3 separate regions of the Homo sapiens genome follow, and all the other regions are linked to region 2. Evidence: promoter capture Hi-C in 16 types of primary human blood cells and fetal thymus (Javierre and others, 2016). All regions are on one chromosome and are shown on one strand. The core of a region is centred on a gene start or on the middle of the fragment in contact, and the rest is flanking DNA. Distances in the headings are between cores, read along the strand shown. Region 1 overlaps TSPAN5-DT (TSPAN5 divergent transcript). Region 2 holds the start of PAPSS1 (3'-phosphoadenosine 5'-phosphosulfate synthase 1). Region 3 holds the start of RAP1GDS1 (Rap1 GTPase-GDP dissociation stimulator 1).

Region 1 (2,700 bases), core at 65-2,564, 9.1 Mb before region 2:
CAGAAAAAAAATTGGCAGCAAACATGAAAAATAAAAACCTGAATGTCTATATTATAAGTAGGGCTCATAGAGCTATAGTAAAATATAGAATCGCAGTGGTTGAGTATAAACAGAAAATAAATCATATAAGAAATAAAATATATGGGGAAATTAATCTAGTAATAAATGAAGTATACATTAAAACTAATAAAGATACAAAAATAATGAGCACTGGTTAGCACATACATTGTTGGTGTCCTTATGAAATAATATGTCCATTTGGAAAGCATTTTGGCTGTATATATCAGGTCAGAGTGCTCCTACATTTTGACTCAGCAGTCCCTCTTCTGGGAATCTACCCAAAGAAATACCCCAGCAGATGGAAAAAGTTATACACTGCAAGATGTATATCATAGCATTATTTATATTGAAGACTTGGCCAGAAATTAAAGATCAAAGAGTAGGGGTGATATCCAATTCCTTGTAGTTACTTGGACCACAATGTTCCTTCACATTCTGTGCCTCTGCACATGTCATTTAGAGTTTCTGCCTGGGGCATTCTCCTTGTCTCTTGTCTGTGAGCTGATTTCTCTTATTCTTCACTACTTTTGTTCAATGTCTCGGAGGCTCCTTCTTTATTCCCTCAACACCCGCTGTGTTCTTCCATCCCGGCACTTAAAGGCTGCCTGTAAGAACTTGTTTACCTACCTGTCTCCTCAATCTGCTGTGACTCCTTCTAGGGTGTGACCTAACCCTTGGTAATCTTAGAATCACCAGAGCTCTGCAGATATGGCAGGTGCTTGATAAATATTTATTAAAGGAATGAATGAGTCATTTGCTCACAGTTTTTACAGCTCTTGAAGATACTGCTTATAGAGTATGTGGCAATATATGGATACATTATAATGTTAAATTTTAAAGGCACTATATATGGAATTATCTCCAAGTAATATTGTTAAATTTTAAAAACAAGGAACAAAAACAGTGTACACAGTAGGCTATCATTTTGTGAAAAGATAAGCTCTGTTGGCAAAAGAATATCCATACACATATTTCCTTGTTAATGGGTAGGCTATCTATGGAAGAAAACGAAATAAACTGGTAACAGCGAGTTAGGGTGGAATGGGGGGCAAACTGGGGGACTAAAGATACTGATAGGAAGGAGACATGTTTTATTTTTAAATAACCCCTTTAGTCTGTTTTTGAAATTTGTACCATGTATATGATACACGTTTTGAAAAATAAAGCAGTCTACAAAACGGTATGCAGTTGTATGAAAAAAAGTTAGGAGTTAATTTTTGCCAAATAAGAACAGTTATAAGGCTGGGTGATTTTGTTTTCATGTTTCTGGTTTGCAATTTTTAAGTGTGGTTAAATTGCTTTTACAATTAAGAAGATAAAATTATACATAAAGATGTAAGAAAGTAACTAAGTAATCATATTTATTTCACGCAACTCCTTCACAACTCAATAAATGCTGATCTATTTTAAGGAGAAAAGGAGAAAAATTTTCTGTCTGAATACTGCTAAGGCCACCTCCCTTATAACTCTGAGGTTGAAAAATGGTTAATAAGTTTAACTACTGACAAGTTAATCAGCTCTTCAAGTGGCAGTGAAAACAGGTAAAGCGTGTTCTTCTAATAGTTGCCTGGCTGAGGAGCAAGATATGACAACAGCGTTTTAACCTAAGACACCAAACTTAACGAGCTTGTCTGTCTCCACCTGTGCTTTATTGTTCCTGCCCACCTTCCTGCCTCCCTCCTCTTGGGCTCTGTCATTGTCTGCCTCTCTGCTCCTCTCTGTTTTTCTTTTGCTTCTCTGTAGCCGCCCTGCTGGTTGCCTCCACACCCCTCCTGCCGCCTTCCTCTCAGAACCCTAGCAGCTGTGTTCAGCGTCCCCCTCTTAAAGCAGCCACATGCTCTGGGAAGACTGGCCCTCTGCGTCACATCTGGCAGTCCCATTCCTCTTGCTAATGTGTGGTTCAGGAATGGGCAGGTGGCCCAATTCTGGTCAACAAGCCATGAGAAGAATCTGCTAGAGGTTTCCTTGCATCTAAGAAATGGTCTCTTTCGCCCTTGGACTTGGTTGGGTTTGGATGTGATGCCTCGATCCTCTACAGCCTGATGACAAAGACCACACCAAGGATGGCAGAGTGGAAGGATAAAAAGAACCAGGGCCTTCCAGCCTTTGTTGTATGGCTGACTTAACCAACCTTGAAGGTGGCCTTACTCACGACTTCCTGTCAGATGAGACAAATTTCTTGGTTAAGATACTTTGACAGGGGTTTTCCGTTTCATACAACTGAAAGTATCCTGACTTAAACACCTTTTGAGGTTCTGCCCCAAGCCTTTATTGATTTTCTCCTCTTGAATCACCACCAGCATTTCTGCATTTCTCTTAGTACCACGTTTTTTCTATTCCCCACACCCACCACCCCCTCTCTTCCCTAGCTGTTTCTGTCTCAAACAATACAGGGAAACATTTTAGGGTGTCTGACAGATCACACCCACCCCTTTCTCAGACCTTCTCAACCACAAGGTGCTCTCCCACCTCCAGCGAGGTTTGTACTTCACAGTTGATGGGGTCCCGGTAGATTCAGGCTGGGCCAACCTGAGAGTCTGTCTCAGTAACAAAGGGAACCCTGCGCCCAGCTGAAGTGCAGGCAATGTTTACCCGAAAGCTGGGGGTGGGTCCGCATTTCCAGGAGGAAGCCAAGACTCT
Region 2 (2,700 bases), core at 21-2,520:
TCAAGATCACACAGCTAGTAAATGGCAAAGCTGGGATGAGAGACCAGGCCAGGAGTCCAGCGCTCTTTCCACTGTTCTAATTCATCTTTTAAATCTCCTTCCCCTCCTTACCATCTATAGAGTTAAATAAAAGGAGAGAGGAATCAGTAAACAACTCATGATAACAATAACAACAGATGTGGTAAATTAATGACTTCCAAAGAACATTTGCCTGAAATTGCTTGTTTTTTTTTTCTTTGATTCATCTAGGGCAAGTAACGTTTTGGGAGACATTGCATTTAAACCTTATTATTCCATTGGACTGTGAAATAACGTTTCCGTCTAAACTTAAACCAGTGCCTTTCCAGACTCCAAAGATGGGCCCTTCCCTGCTGCACACTTACAAAGGAAGATAAGGCTCTTTCTCATCACAGAGAAATTAAGGAAGTAAGCAACGTTATGAGGACACAGCACTTTACAAAGTCAACTGGCAGTCATTACTAAACGTTATAAAGGACTGGTCCCATACCTGACTGTCACCAGGAATGGAGTCTTCCAAACTCCTACTTGTTAAACATTCCGATTTAACACAGAGACACAAAGAACCTCAGTTCAGGGCAGTCTCAACTCATGAATGACCACATTGTTGGGTACTCTCCTTTCACACTGAAACTCAGAAATGGAAAGACACGGAGATGGACCCAAACCTGGGCCAACCGCACTGGCAGAGCCAAGAAAAACCAAGAACGCGTCGAAGGCGCCCGCCTCCGCCTTCTCTGCACATCTTCAGGCCACTCCAAGGTATGCAGGAAGCTCCTGTTTCTGCAGCCGCAGGTTTCAGCACCCGGAGGTTTCAGCAAGCGCCAGTTCACGGGTGAAGGATTTTCCTGGGGGTCTTACCTGAGCGGAGGCGCTGGGGAGGGGGGGCGTTCTTCCCACGAACGGTGGCTCGGACCGCACGCTGCGCCAAGCTAGGGCGAGATCCCCACCCTGCGCCGCGCCCCTCTGCCTCGCAACCACCCACGGCCCCAGCCGGGAGGCGCCGCAGCCCCGGAACCCACCTCCGCGCTCCTGGAAGGATGGATGCGGAGGAGGCGGGAGAGAGGCGGCGGCTCCGGAACGAGCTGCTCCCACAGCCCCTCCGCTCCTCGCCGTCTCGCCTTCGTCCCCAGCTTACCCAGTTCTGCGCGTTATTGCTCAGTTTGACTTTCTTGCACAGGCTCCCGGGGATCTCCATGACCGCGGAGCGCGCTGAGCAGCCGGGGTTCTCTGCGCCGGGAGGGTAGCAAGAGGAGGGCAGGCCAGCGAGCGGGGCGGGGCTGGAGGGCGGGGCCTCCTCGCGTCGGAGCGGGCGCGCGCTGACTTAAGCACGCGCCCGTGCTCGTGGCCTGGGTTGCGCGGCGCATGCGGCGCGCCTCGGAAATGGGTCCGGGGCAGAGGTCTGTGGGGAAGGGCGAAACGCCGGGATAGAACCGGAGGTAGAAGCTGGGGGCGGAGCTTCAGCGCTCGCGCCGGCGCGGGCGCGCACGGCGCTCCTCCTTCCAGATCCCGATGAAGGGGCGGGGCCTGGAATGCAGTCGTGGAACCTCAGGTGCCTCTGCGGCACCGAGCCTAGCTCTGAGCTAACGCAGATCTCTAAGAGCGAGTACCAGCCGCCGGGAGAAAGGCAAGGGGAGTGCGCGGCTCGCCGCGCGCGGCACTCCCTCAGCAGAGGCTGATTGGGAGGACGCTGACGCGGCCTCTTGCACCTGTGGCTACTCCTCCACAGACCTGGCTGCCGACCTCCTGTCTGCCCCTTCTGTGCCCATGTCACCCTGGCCAAATGTTTTAAATGTTTTACAGCTTTGCAAAGGGAAGAATTGATTTACCGAACAGCTCATTCTCCACATTAAAATTCTACTCAAGACACAATTTTTTTTCTTTTTTTGAGACGGAGTCTTGCTCTGTCGCCCAGGCTGGAGTGCAGTAGTAGGATCTCGGCTCACCGCAACCTCTGCCTCCCGGGTTCAAGCGATTCTCCTGCCTCAGCCTCCCGAGTAGCTGGGACTACAGGCGTGTGCCACCACGCCCGGCTAATTTTTGTATTTTTAGTAGAGACGGGGTTTCACTATGTTGGCCAGGCTGGTCTCGAATTCCTGACCTCATGATCCGCCCGCCTCAGCTTCCCAAAGTGCTGGGATTCCAGGCGTGAGCGACAGCGCCTGGCCTCAAGACACAGTTTTTAAAAAGATATAATAAAAGCCCGATTTCTTGACATCAATAATTAATATCTCAACCTGGATTAGTGATTACTTATAAGGTGCCTCCCTCTCCGCTAGGAGACCCCACTTCGCATCAGATTTCTGTGCAGTGCTTCTTACCGACCTACACCGGAAAGGGGCTTCTGTATTATTAAGAGCTACTCAGGAAATACCTAGAGGACTGAAATCCAGGACCGGGGAGGCCGCAGGTAACCCCGAATAGAACTCCCGCCTACGGAGGACATTTTCAAATTCACCTAATTATTCCAGGGCTAGTTCGTAGGAGGATGGGCTGGGGGCATGACAGAGTTTCCTCCAGGAGTTATCTTCCCCACACCCCCCATAACTCTGAGTTCTCTTTTCCGCAGCTTGCCCCTGGCACCAAAAGAGTTGCTTGCAGCTCTGCCCCCCTGTGACACAGCCGCCCTCCGCCCCTGACCCCGCCCATCACCAAGACCTGAGACTGCTGCCTGTTAGTGAC
Region 3 (2,963 bases), core at 378-2,877, 9.5 Mb before region 2:
AGAATTGTGAGATAATAATTTGTTGTTTTAAGTCACCCAATTTGTGGTATGTTACGGCAGCCCTAGGGAACTAATGTAGTGCGATTATTTTAAGAGGCAAACAAGAAGAACATCCTAAGAGTGAGGTGCCTGATAGTCTCATGCATCAGAAAAGTCCCATATATTTGACTTCAGCAGTTAAATTGTATTTTCCTGTTTTACCAAACCTTTTTAATTATCGTTTCTTGCTGTAGAAAAATCACATAAAATCTGCTCTTTGCTTAACAAATTACAGGGTCGCTTCTGATTTGTGTGCTCGAAATACTAGTCACCAAGCAGAAACTGATGACTGTGAGAATAGGCGACTAATTAACAAACAAACAAAAAAAGCCCTTTCTCAACATTGGATTGACCGAGTGAAAGTTGACAGGGGAAAGACACCTCGATTCAGCCATCTTTCTCCAACAGGTTGTACTGCTGACTGCACAGTGTCCCCTGAAGGACTCCGGTCGCTGTAGCCTTGGAGAGCGACCAGATTCCTCACCCCACTCAGGAGGAGCCAGGGCAAGATTAGGGTGCAGAGAAATCGGTTTCCTCCAGCCTCCTACCCCAGGGAAGAGGACCGAAGCCAGCCCCGGCCTCACGTGCATGCCCAGTCGGGAGGACGCCCTCAGTGGGAGAGCCCTGCTCAGGTTCTCCCCGAGGCCGAGGTGGTGGTGGGAGCGGGCGGTGGCCCCGGGATCAAAGGACCTCCGCCGGGTTAGCTTTGGCAGTGCCGCAGCCAACCCAGCAGGACGCTTATTTTCAAGCCTGGGGAACGTAGTTCCTCCCGCTTTCACAGCAGGATGGAGCCCGACGGCACCCCGGTTAAAGGGCCTTTCCAGAGCCCTCCGGGGAACGGAAGGCCGCGCTCCTCCGGGAGGGAGAACGACACACTCTTCGAGGAAATCCTGGGGCGGGCGCTCTCCTCGCTGCCGGGACCTTTGTTTCTAAGCTGGCCACAGCTAGAGCAGCCTTAAGTGTCCCAATGACACGCCTGCTATCGAGCGCCCTCCCGGCGGCCCCTCCTCAGCCAGCTGCCCAGCGGGCGTCCTCAGGTGTCCCCAAGAGGCGCAGGCCTAGTCGCCTACACGTCCTTTCCAACTTCGTCAGCTCTGGCTTCCCACCACCCCTCCCGGCTCTGCGGCGGCCCAGCCTCTTCTCCGGTTAATTCCGGCCTGTGCGGCCCGGTCGTCCCGTAAAGAAGGCAAGCCCGGGTTCCGGGTGAGGGGTTGGTGGGTCAGGGTGGGAAAGCAAGGCAGCGGTGAGTCCTCTGCTAGCAGATCGGGCTCAATATCCCCATTCCCTGTTTTCTCCGGGCCCGCCCTCCGCCTCTCAGGCGGCCGCCATGAAGATCCTCTGCCGCGGCTGCAGCCGGTCTGCAAACACACGCCCACCCGCACGCTTAGCCTCGCTCGCCACAGAGGGAGGGGTGGAAAAGGCACTGAGCATGCTCGGTGGGGAGGGCGGGGCGCTCGTGGGCTGCGAGTCGGGGCCGGAGCTCTTCAGGCCGGCTCCCGCGCCTCCGCCGCCCGCCCGCTCGGAGCCGCGCCCGCCGCAGGCTGCGCCCGCCAGTCCCGCCCCGCCCCGCCCCGCCCCGCCCCCCGCCGCTCGTCCCCGCCGCGGCCGCGCCGCCTGCAGCAGCACCAGCTGCTCCTCCCCGGCGGCCGCCCCCCGCGGGTCCCTCCCTGGCTGCGGGAGAGACGGAGGTAGAGGGAGGACACAGAGCCGCGCCGCCCGCACCACAGACCTTCGCCTCGCCCCGCCGGTTCCTCACCCTCGGGGAGCAACATGGGTAAGTCATCCTTCCTCCGCCGTCATCGCCTGACATTTTTTTCTTTCTCGGCGTGCTGCAGGGTGGGAAGCATTTCTCGCGCAAAGTTGCCGGATTTCTCCAGTCCCCGGGTGTGAGACGGTGGCTGTTCCTCCGGGGAGAGTCGGCGCACGCGGAACGCACGCCGGGTGCCGGGGCTGGGAGGGTCCCGAGCGCGGGCTGGGGTGGGGTCGGCCGCGGGCCGGACCGCCGCCCGGCTCCCCGGCACCTCGCAGCCTCGCCTCCCCTCCTCCATTCTTCCTGCCGGTGCCCGGGCACCACGGAGCCTGCCTCGCGGGCTCGCATCTGCAGCTCCATCCCCGTTTCTCCAGAGGCCGCCCGCTTCCTTTTCCCCCGCGTGTACTGAGCTCGAGGCTCGGGTCCGACCACTACCACTTCGTGTAACTTCCTTCTCTGTCAGTGCGACCTTTCCCCGTCGTGGAGACTCCTCATCCCGGGCGGGGAAGTGGAAGCAAGTAGTTTGTGAGGGAGATCTTACAACCTGCACGGAAATTATTTTCCAAGGGGGAGAGCGGACAGCCTCATAGGTTGAAAGGATGACTTGTCAGAGGCCACGAGGAACGTGAGGCAGGATAGAGCCGCTAGCTGTTGAATTAGTGCTGGGTGACTACAGTGTGCAATATTCCCGTGCCCAGCCTATTTTCTGGATTCCTTCGTCCGTCTTCTGTAGCAGGAAACTGCGCCCTGTAACGTTGTTACCGAACTTACATGGTAGTTATTCTTTCCCAGCTTCCTCCTGTCTAATCTGCATAATCTGATTTTAGTTCCTTTGTATTTATAGTTAATCTGAAGAGATTGGTTTGGATGAGAGATTTAAGAGCAAATATGTTTTATAAAACGATATATACATTTGACCTAATTTTTTTACATCATCTATTGCTTAACTGTTACATTCAGTAATCACAGAAACGTCTGATGAATGCTGTCATGTAATTAAGAGCTCAAAGTTTCTTTTAATAGTAGCGACTTGTACTAAGTTCCCCAGTTTGCTTCCACTCCTGTCTGTCATAATTTCCTCTTTTTAAAATTTGCTCCCTTGGCATCTGTCAGCTGGGACTTTTCCCACCCCTTCTGTGCGAGTTATTTAAAGCTTGAGATGAATGTGGTCCTT

The links. The method cuts DNA at HindIII sites, captures the fragments that hold promoters and counts their contacts. A CHiCAGO score of 5 or more calls a contact.
Region 1: a contact is called between a fragment that was not itself captured here and the fragment with the promoter of PAPSS1 in region 2, in 1 of 17 cell types (non-activated CD4 T cells). The highest score is 7.8, in non-activated CD4 T cells.
Region 3: the fragment with the promoter of RAP1GDS1 here is called in contact with the fragment with the promoter of PAPSS1 in region 2 in 1 of 17 cell types (non-activated CD4 T cells); the score reaches 11.0 in non-activated CD4 T cells.

Annotation. Positions count from the first base shown.
Region 1 is chr4:98,661,187-98,663,886 of GRCh38, forward strand. It overlaps TSPAN5-DT (TSPAN5 divergent transcript), which reads left to right. Exons shown (of 3, transcript NR_148380.1): 3 at 1,804-2,700. The region is part of intron 1 of LOC112267901 (a long non-coding RNA gene); the gene reads left to right. Among named protein-coding and RNA genes, the nearest start is that of TSPAN5-DT, 3.6 kb to the left of the region's middle. The HindIII fragment of the contact is 4,440 bases long and covers 1-2,700 here.
Region 2 is chr4:107,718,964-107,721,663 of GRCh38, forward strand. It overlaps PAPSS1 (3'-phosphoadenosine 5'-phosphosulfate synthase 1), which reads right to left and starts at 1,271. Exons shown (of 12, transcript NM_005443.5): 1 at 1,157-1,271. The coding sequence starts at 1,216. RefSeq lists enhancers at 524-583, 2,574-2,700 and a silencer at 1,214-1,463. The HindIII fragment of the contact is 5,198 bases long and covers 1-2,700 here.
Region 3 is chr4:98,259,757-98,262,719 of GRCh38, forward strand. It overlaps RAP1GDS1 (Rap1 GTPase-GDP dissociation stimulator 1), which reads left to right and starts at 1,628. Exons shown (of 15, transcript NM_001100427.2): 1 at 1,628-1,813. The coding sequence starts at 1,810. RefSeq lists enhancers at 869-1,168, 920-1,482 and silencers at 1,449-1,748, 1,849-1,918. The HindIII fragment of the contact is 4,992 bases long and covers 1-2,940 here.